Linked DNA regions of Homo sapiens: all the other regions are linked to region 2. The links are contacts of gene promoters, found by promoter capture Hi-C in blood cells and fetal thymus (Javierre and others, 2016). All regions are on one chromosome and are shown on one strand. The core of a region is centred on a gene start or on the middle of the fragment in contact, and the rest is flanking DNA. Distances in the headings are between cores, read along the strand shown. Region 1 has its middle 38 kb from the start of PIM1. Region 2 holds the start of SRSF3 (serine and arginine rich splicing factor 3). Region 3 overlaps PIM1 (Pim-1 proto-oncogene, serine/threonine kinase).

What was found. The method cuts DNA at HindIII sites, captures the fragments that hold promoters and counts their contacts. A CHiCAGO score of 5 or more calls a contact.
Region 1: a fragment that was not itself captured here is called in contact with the fragment with the promoter of SRSF3 in region 2 in 1 of 17 cell types (total B cells); the score reaches 6.4 in total B cells.
Region 3: a fragment that was not itself captured here is called in contact with the fragment with the promoter of SRSF3 in region 2 in 1 of 17 cell types (naive B cells); the score reaches 8.0 in naive B cells.

What each region holds. Positions count from the first base shown.
Region 1 is chr6:37,206,546-37,209,592 of GRCh38, reverse strand. No RefSeq gene overlaps it. Among named protein-coding and RNA genes, the nearest start is that of PIM1, 38 kb to the right of the region's middle. The HindIII fragment of the contact is 4,608 bases long and covers 1-3,047 here.
Region 2 is chr6:36,592,693-36,595,984 of GRCh38, reverse strand. It overlaps SRSF3 (serine and arginine rich splicing factor 3), which reads right to left and starts at 1,623. Exons shown (of 6, transcript NM_003017.5): 1 at 1,504-1,623. RefSeq lists enhancers at 1,336-1,565, 1,166-1,847, 1,956-2,115. The HindIII fragment of the contact is 2,162 bases long and covers 1,170-3,292 here.
Region 3 is chr6:37,174,716-37,177,994 of GRCh38, reverse strand. It overlaps PIM1 (Pim-1 proto-oncogene, serine/threonine kinase), which reads right to left. Exons shown (of 6, transcript NM_002648.4): 6 at 2,567-3,279. Among named protein-coding and RNA genes, the nearest start is that of PIM1, 6.2 kb to the right of the region's middle. The HindIII fragment of the contact is 1,541 bases long and covers 618-2,158 here.

The sequences.
Region 1 (3,047 bases), core at 42-2,541, 610 kb before region 2:
GATGACGTCAGTGCTGCCCGCTCTCTGAGGGAAGCTGGCTATCATGTTGAAAGTATCTTTATGGAAAGGCTCACACTGCCAGGAGCAGAGGTCACTAACCAAGAGCCCGTGAGGAACGGAATCCTACCAACAGCCCCATGAGGGAGCTTGGAAGCAGATCCTCCCCTACACAACTCTTTTTTTTTTTTTTAAATACAATATGGGGTCTCCCTATGTTGCCCAGGCTGGTCTTGAACTCCTGGCCTCAGGCTATCCTCCCACCTTGGCTTCCCAGAGTGCTGAGATTATAGGCATGAGCCACCATACCCAGTCAGGATATGTTTTGGGGTGGTTACTGTTGTAGAGACATTTTTGTAGAGATGTGACATGTACTAGTTATCTATTACTGCATAACAAATTACCCCAAAATTAGCAGCTTAAGACAGTACATTTATTCTGTCTTAGTTTCTGCGGTCAGGAGTCCAGACACAGCTCACCTGGTTCTCTGACTCAGATTCTCTCAGGGTCTCACTCAGGATGTCTCTACTTTTATTTGATTTTTAGAGACAGGGTTGCACTCTGTCACCCAGGCTGGAATGCAGTCGTGCAATCATAGCTCACTGGAGCCTTGAACTTCCAGGCTCAAGCGATCCTCCCACCTCAGCCTCCTGAGTAGCTGGGAATACAGGTGTGCCACCGCATCCAACTGATGTAAAAAAATTTTTTTTTTTAATTTTCTTAAAATGTGGGAATGTAGCCGGGCATGGTAGCTCACGCCTGTAATGACAGCACTTTGGGAGGCTGAGGCGGGTGGATCACCTGAGGTCAGGAGTTCAAGACCAGTCTGGCCAACATGGTGAAACCTCCTCTCTACTAAAAATACAAAAATTAACCGGGCATGGTAGCAGGTGCCTGTAATCCCAGTTACTCAGGAGGCTGAGGCAGGAGAATTGCTTGAACCTGGGAGGTGGAGGTTGCAGTGAGCTGAGATCGCGCCACTATACTGCAGCCTGGGCAACAAGAGCAAAACTCCATCTCAAATAAATAAATAAATAAATAAATAAATAAATAAAAATTGGGGAGTGTATCCCAATCCACACTCCTGATTTTCTCCCGTATACCTTGCCCTAACCCCCAGTCTTTGCCACCTCTACCCTTCCATTGCTCAAGTTAAAGACCCAGCAGGCATCCTTAGGTCCTCTCTTTCTCTCAGCCTGAATCTAACTCCTCACCACTCCCCATCAGCCCACCCTTCAATATAGATCCATATCCAACCACTTCATATAACCTCCCCTGCCACCTCCCTGGCCCAGGCCATCACCATCTCTTGCCCAGGCTATTGCAGTAGCAGTTCCTGACTGGCCTCCCCATGCCACTGTGTTCCCTTTACAGTCAGTTCTCCGCCCAGCCACCAGAGGGCTCCTGTTGAAACCTGAGTCAGATCAAGTCCCTCCTCTACTCCGGTCCTCACCTGCCAGGGCTCCCCACCACACTCAGGGTAGAAATCCCAAGTCTTTACCACGGCATGCCAGCTGCTAAATAACCCAGTCCCTTGTCACCCTCTGATCTGCTTTCTAACCATTTTGTTCTCTCCGCCTCCCTCTGCTGCAGCCATGCTGTCTTCCTTTCGTTCACCCTAACACAGACAGCACACTCCAGCCTCGGGGCCTTTGCACTCACTGTGCCTTCCGCCTAGAATATTCTTACTCCAGCTATTCACCAGCTTCCTTTCTTGCTCAGAAGGCATCAGAGAGGCCTTCCCTACCAATGGGTGTGAAACAGCCCCTCCCTACCATCCCATGTGTCTCTTTCCCACTTACTGTGCTACATTTCTTCATAACATGTACTATCACCTGACTTACTCTATACAGTTGCCTCTCCCACCACCCTCCAAAAATGTGGGCACCATATTTACTTCACTGATGTTTTCCCAGCACCTAGTTCAATGCCCAGCATGTAGCAGGTGCTTGATAAAGATTTGTGGAATGAATGGACATAGACTCTCAGTTTTGTTTTTGTTTTGGAGACAGAGTCTCTGTCGCCCAGGCTGAAGTGCAGTGGCACCATTGTGGCTTAGTGCAACCTCCGCCTCCTGAGTTCAAGCGATTCTCCTACCTCATCCACCTGAGTAGCTGGGACTACAGGTGCCCACCACCACTCTGGGCTAATTTTTGTATTTTTAGTAGAGATGGGGTTTCACCAAGTTGGCCAGGCTGGTCTTGAACTCCTGACCTCAGGTGATCTGCCCAAAGTGTTGAGATTACAGGCATGAGTCGCCACGCCCGGCCTATGAGAGGCAAATTATTACTGTTCTTTCAGCCTCCTGTTCCTACTCCTTTCTTCTCTCATTCAATTCTGCAGTCTCTGGTGAAGAATCTAGACACAGGTAGGAAAATACCGACAAAGGATACGATTTCAGCCCCTTATTCCTTTCCTCCTTTCCCAGTCCTGTTCCCTTACACCAACTGCTGCCACTAGAATCACCACCTCATCTCCCAGCTCCATCTCACCAAGTGGAAAACAAGTCTTTCTAACAGTGCAGGTGTCCCCGGGAAGAGCAACACTCTTAAGGGCTGTCACCCACCCCTGACACTTTCAGTCCGTGAAGATCCCCCAGCCTTCCGTCCTACTTTTCTTCATACAGTTTATTACTGTGTTGCAGACCGTGAATTAGGAATTGAGGAATACCTGGGGAAGCAAGACACAGCCCACATTCCAAGGGGCTCCCAGCCTAGCGAGGGGCCAAGCCACTTAGGCTATCTGGACCCAGGACGATAGGTGCTAGAGGAAGCACTGGGGGCCGCAGGAGGGGGCCTTGGAGGTGGAGAGTCAGGGAAGTCTTCCTGGAGGAGAAAACCTTTAAGCCGAGTCCTGGAAGATAGCATGATTTAGCCCTTAGAAAGGAGGGGAAGAAGGCTGGGTGCAGTGGCTCACGCCTGTAATCCTAGCACTTTGGGAAGCTGAGGCGGGAGGATGGCTTGAGCCCAGGTGTTCAAGACCAGCCTGGGCAATACAGTAAGACTTCATCTCTACAAAAAATTTAAAAATTAGGCCGGGCGCGGTGGCTC
Region 2 (3,292 bases), core at 374-2,873:
CCACTGCACTCCAGCCTCGGCGACAGAGCGAGATTCCATCGCCAAAAAAAAACCACAAATAAATAAATAAATAAATGCCTATTTTGGTCATTTGGAACTATAGGAACAAGGCTAGTATCAAATGTCATTAGATAGACCAGAGTCTTACGCGGTAAAAATTTATCAAGCAACGAGACCAACTTTACAGTTTTTTAAAAAATGTAAACTCATAGTAGCACTTATTCACAGTAGCCCAAAGATGTTAACCCAAATGTCCATCAACAGAAACGGATAAGCAAAATGTGGTATAGACATAAAATGAGTATTATTCAGAATGATGTACTGACAAATCCTCCAACGTTGGAAAATCTTGAAAACATTACGCTAAGTTAAAGAAGCCAGACATAAAAGTACACGATTCCATAAATACTAAATATCTAAAATAGCTAAGTTCAGAGAGACAGGAAGATTAGTGGTTGCTAGGGACTAGAGGAAGGGGGACAGGGAATCTGGGAGTAAGTGCTCAATGGGTAGTAGTCTCCTGCGGGGGGAGGTGACGGAAATGTTTTGGAACTACGTGTAAGTGATGATTACACAACACTGAATATACTAAATACCACTTAAAGATAATTTCACTTTAATAAAAAATTACAAAGAGATATTTGCTACTAAAAAATTTACTGCACTTTGGGGACTTATTTTTTTGTTCTTCCTTGGCGGACTTGTATTTGATAAAGCTTTATTACTGAGTCACTTCGACGATGAATCTGATAAACTTGTAGACCAGTTTCAATTACATAAAAACCATCTACTCAATAATTCAGCTGAAGTGCTTTCCATAAACACCACGTTCTTCTTACTCTGGGCTTGTCTAATTAAAATATCCAGTCCAGACACATCCTATTTGCCGTGACCACACCCTGTGCCCAGGAGTAAGTTCTAAGACCAAACCACTGGTGAAAATTTTTAAAAACACTGCTGGCACCTGTCTTAAGCCTCCATTTTAATGGGAAGCGATGAAAGAACGAATCTTAAGTTCAAGGAAGATCTTTCGGTCTTAGAAAAAGGTGATTAGATTCAGGCTGCAAAATCTGAAACTACATGAAAGTAAGGTGACTACGGGGGCCATTTAATATGAACTGAAAGGTCCGGTCTTGGTTAGTGACTTTACAAAAACATTCTGAGAAGCTTCCCAATTAAATGAGGGGCCAAAAAAAAAAAAGGCGCCATAAAAATAAAAAGGCCGTGACCTGGAATACAACTCGGCTATCGGCTCCCCTTTGTGGTTCCCAACTCCCAGGTAACCCCCATCCTGGCTCATGCCCCAATGAGGAATATAAAGACTTCCACTCCAAGACTAGGAAACCCTCCGATGGGCCGGGAGCCCCCGCCACCGCCCCGTGCTGAACGTCACAAAATGGCGGCGGCGCCTCTTTGTCTCAATCTGGCGCCGCCATTGGGCCTGGCTCCTTGGTACTGTTAAATTCCATTTCCACCTCATTCCCTCTTTCGCTGGTCTCTTACCGAGATCTAGGGTTAAAAAATGCGGCGGCTCAAATCCACACGCTCCGATGAGTCTTCCCGCTTTCCTCCGGCCCAACACCAACCAACTCTCTCACTCACCCGGCGTCCACGAAATGGCGGACCACCGCCTTCTCCTCGCCTTTATTTATACGCCATACTGGAATCACATGATTGGACGGGCTCCCCCAATGAGAAGCAGAAGAGGCCGTGACGTATGGCTACAAACGCAGCGAGAGCCGCGGTTGCTGGGAGCGCGCTCTGGCGGTTGCGCCGGGTGGGTGGAGACGTGCGTCGGCGCGCGCTCGTTGTAACAGGCCTGGTGCTCCCTCGAGCGTTCCTCCCGGTCTGTCGACCTCCAGGTTACCCACAGACTCCTCTTCCTCACCTCCAAATAGGCTAGGGCTTCATAAACAGCACCGTCGCCGTCACGCTCAAACACTAATAGGAGCCGTTGGCCCCTAACAAGATTAAGAGATGAATTAATTAAGTGCTTCACCCTTGTGAGCGGTTAGTCTGGAACTAAGAGCATCGCGTTTACAAACAGGTCACGGAGCTGTTTGTGACCCAGCTGGCACCAGACTGTGGCCGCCTAGATTCCACACTGAAGGAAAAGCCTGGTTTGGAAAGTTTGCCCAACTCTTGCTGGTTTCTCGTCTCTCAAGCAAACTTGCAGGACTTGGCGCCGACAGCAAAGGAGACCGGTCAGGTGACCTGGAAACTATCACCTTTAGCAAACACCCGGAAAGGGAAGTTTCTGAAGAAGATTGAATGTAAATTCTGGCCCCCAAGCAAATGCCAGGAGGGGTATCTCGAGCCTTTCTCCTAGCAGCCGTTGCACTGCCTGGCATGTATTTTGTCCGGGCCACTTCCCTTACGAAGACAGAGCCGCAAGAGTAATTAAGGGGAGAGAGACTGTGATTGGGTTAGAAAAATCACCAAGGGCCGGGCGCGGTGGCTCATGCCTGTAATCCCAGCACTTTGGGAGGCCGAGGCAGGCGGATCACTTGAGGTCAGGAGTTCAAGACCAGCCTGGCCAACATGGTGAAATCCCGTCTCTATTAAAAATACAAATGGCCGGGCATGGTGGCAGGCGCCTGTAATCCCAGCTACTTGGGAGGCTGAGAGCAGGAGAATCGCTTGAACCCAGGAGGCGGAGGTTGCCGTGAGCTGAGATCCTACCACTGCACAAAAAAAAAAAGAGAGAAAAAGAACCTGTCTTTTTATTTATTCCCTCTTAGCTGAAAGATATGCCAATTATTATGTTTTTTTTTTTCTTTTTTCTTTTTTTTTTTTTCTTGAGATGGAGTCTCGTTCTGTTGCCCAGGCTGGAGTGCAATGGCGCGACCTCGGCTCACTGCAAACTCCGCCTCCCGGGTTCAAGCGATTCGCCTACCTCAGCTTCCCGAGTAGCTGGGATTACAGGCACCTGCCACCACACCCGGCTAATTTTTGTATTTTTAATAGAGACGGGGTTTCACCATGCTGGTCAGGCTGGTCTCGAACTCGCCACCTCAGGCGATTCTCCCGCCTCGGCCTCCCAAAGTGCTGGTATTACAGGCGTGAGCCACAGCACCCGGCCAGCCAATTAATATGTTTTAACTTTCCCAGGTATTTTTCTTTTGAAGCCTTACCTCTTATTGTGGTTCTAAAAGGTTTATCTGTAGTGGAGGAAAAAAATACAGATTTATTACATCTCAGCCTAGTTTCCTCACCTGTAAAAGGGGAGAAGGGGATCCTAGCAAACCTTTTCTTATTTCTCTCTCGTCTAGATTTTTTTTTCTGGCTCACT
Region 3 (3,279 bases), core at 139-2,638, 580 kb before region 2:
CAGGAGTATCTCTGTTTAGAGATTAGTTTTAGAGGGTGTAATAACTTGCCCAAGGTTTCTAGATAAGTAAGCTCAAGGCTGATTCCCAAGTCAATGCTTTTAACCATTGCTCTCTATATTCCTCTGGCCATGACATTGATCCCCCGCAGACTTATTGGTTATCTGATTCCCTTTCCACGCTAGATGTCAAACTGCCCCTGAGAAGAGATTAAATATGACCTTTCACCCTCCCCCTAAAACTCTTAATCTCTTGCATCCAACAGGAGCACGATCTGTCTTTATTCAGAGATACTTTCTTCTATTCCCCCGCAGCAGTCTCATTAGATGGGGAAACTGCCAGAAACTCACTTCGAGAAAGAGAAGGGTGGGGCTTTGCCTGATTTCGTTAATAGTTTGCGGCAACTTTTAATTATCCAAGTGTCAGCTTTACTGGAAAGGACGAAGCATGCAACCCTCAGGCTCCAAGATGTTGGTAGTGTGTGTATGTTGTGTGGGGGATGGGAGAGATTAGAGAAAAGGGGAACCTCAGAAAATCAGCCCCCCAGAACCAAGACATCCTTCCTTCCTCTTTATAGCCACATGGGGGCTGAGCTGAGGTATGGGATCTAGTCTAAGCTTAAGGGTAGACATACACCAGAACCCAATGAGGAGTGAGGGGTATTATAGTCTGCACCCTCCAGCAACCTCGAGGGTGCATATGGGCCAGTGTCCAAAGGGTGTGTGGATGCATTGAGGGTTGGGAGCATGATGACCCCCAGGGAGGGAGTATTATAACTGTGGATATTTATAAAGAAACAAGAAACCAACATTTACCAATACTTAATATATGAATTGACAATGGCACTCCAGTGTGCTTTCAAAATATCAGGATGTATTCAGGCCACACGTACAAAGTGGATTCATGGGTCTTGCCATCCAGTTTAACTAAACTCACACAAAATGGACAAAGGGCCTATTAAACAGATCCCTGCAAAGAAACCATGGACTAAAAATACTAATTATTCAAGAATAAGCAGTAAGAAAATGGCAGAGCTAACATTTCACCTACTCCCAATATTAGCCCTTTGTCAAACACATCAGAGGGGGAAACCTTAAGTCAAACTCACATTTCTACCCATCCACTATTGTGTGTGTGTGTGTGTGTGTGTGTGTGTGTGTTTTAAGTGGGGTTACCTGTTGCCCAGGCTGGAGTGCAATAGCGTGATCATAACTCACTGCAACCTTGGAGCTCCTGGGTTCAAGCGATCCTCCTGCCTCAGCCTCCTGCATAGGTAGGACTACAGGTGTATGCCACCACGCTCAGCTAATTTTCACTTATTTTTTGTAGACTGGGTCTTATCTGGTCACGACTTTAGTGTCACCACACTGTTCTATTATTTTTTCTATGCTGCATAATAAATTATACTATTGTTAAAGACTAGGCCAGGCGCGGTGGCCCACGCCTGTAATCCCAGCACTTTGGGAGGCCAAGGCAGGCAGATCACTTGAAGTCAGGAGTTCCAAACCAGCCTGGCCAACATGGCGAAACCCCGTATCTACTAATACAAAATTAGCTGGCCTGGTGGCACATGCCTGTAATCCCAACTTCTCGGGAGGCTGAGACAGGATAATCACTTAAAACCCGGGAGGCGGAGCTTGCGATGAGCCTAGATTGCACCACTGCACCCCAGCCTGGGCAACAGAGCGACACTCCATCTCAAAAAAAAAAAAAAAAAGGCTGCGGAGCACGATGGCTCACACCTGTAATCCTAGCACTTTGGGTGGCTGAAGCAGGCGGATCATAAGGTCAAGGAGCTCGAGACCAGCCTGGCCAACATGGTAAAACCCTGTCTCTACTAAAATACAAAAATTAGCTGGGCGTGGCAGCGGGCGCCTGTAATCCCAGCTACTCAGGAGGCTGAGGTAGAACTGCTTGAACCCGGGAAGTGAAAGTTGCAGTGAGCCGAGATCGTGCCACTGGCAGTGGCACGCCAGCTGGTCCAGCCTGGTTGACAGAGACTCAGTCTCGAAAAGAAACTAAACCTCACACTAAAGGTGAAGGAAACTTGAATCAGGAACCGAGAGTAATAGAGGCAATAGTTTTTCAATAAACTTCACGTGTACCAAGGGGACATGCTCAAAATGTTTTACTATCAGTGGCAGACAACTGATAAAAGCTTCAAGGGTTAGTTTGGTAATAGGTATGTATTTGTTATCTCTAGATCAGCCCCATCCAATAGAACTTTCTGCAATGATGTTTTATATGAGGTGGCCACTAGCCATAAATGGCTATTGAACACTTGAAAATTGTCACATCTATCCTATTTGCATAGCTTTAAAATTGTAATCTGGAAAAGGTTATTTTATTAGGCCTCCCATGCCAGATATTGCCCAAATTTTGACAATACTGGTCCTACCCCTTGACCATACATTCGTTTCAGGAAGATGACTATCCTAGAAATCCCAATGTTGAAGGAAGCCAGATTTAGGCTGAGAATTCCTTTCTCCTACAATTCTTTGGCACTTACCAAATGCTCAATAAATGCAGGTTAGCAATGCCTCCGCACAGACGATTAGAAGCCACGAGTTAAGACAAAAGGTTTTTATTCAAAAAACGCCAAGTATAAAAAAAAAAATAAGATCTCTTTTATTCCCCTGTACAGTATTTCACTCAGATAAAACCAGCAGGCTACCTGCTGCTCAAAACACAGCCCCAGAGAGGATCTGGAAGGCACACCATCCAGAACTGCTTTTCATAATTATCCTATATACACAGTCAGCAATGCCCCTCCCCATCACCCACAGAGCCGGGACCCACCTGGGTAAGTAGGTGAGGGGCCCCACAGAAGCCAGGGAGCTGCAGCACTGTCCCGCCTGAGTCCCGTCACCCCACAAACAGAGCAAGCGTCGCAGCCCTCCCCCAAAAGGTCCCCAAGTCAGAGGAGGAAAGGAGGAAAGAAAACTAGGGCAGCAGCTATGGAAGCTTGGAATAGGAAGGGAACCAAATAAATAAATAAATAAATACATAACATTGACCTCCAGGTTAGAATGCGCATCTTTCAAAACAAGAAACAAAAACAGGTAAAATAACTTAAAGGCAAAATTTCTTAAAAATTAGATCCACTACAATCTTTTTGTATACTACCATGCCAACTGTACACACATTTACAGCTTTTCTGTTGATTGCATTGTTTGTGCATTTTTTGTGTGTGTGAGGTCTTGGCTTTGAAACAGTTAAGTAAAAACCAAAAAGGAAGACCAGTTCACTCGGAGTTTTACTAAAGGAGGCAGAAAAAAGGG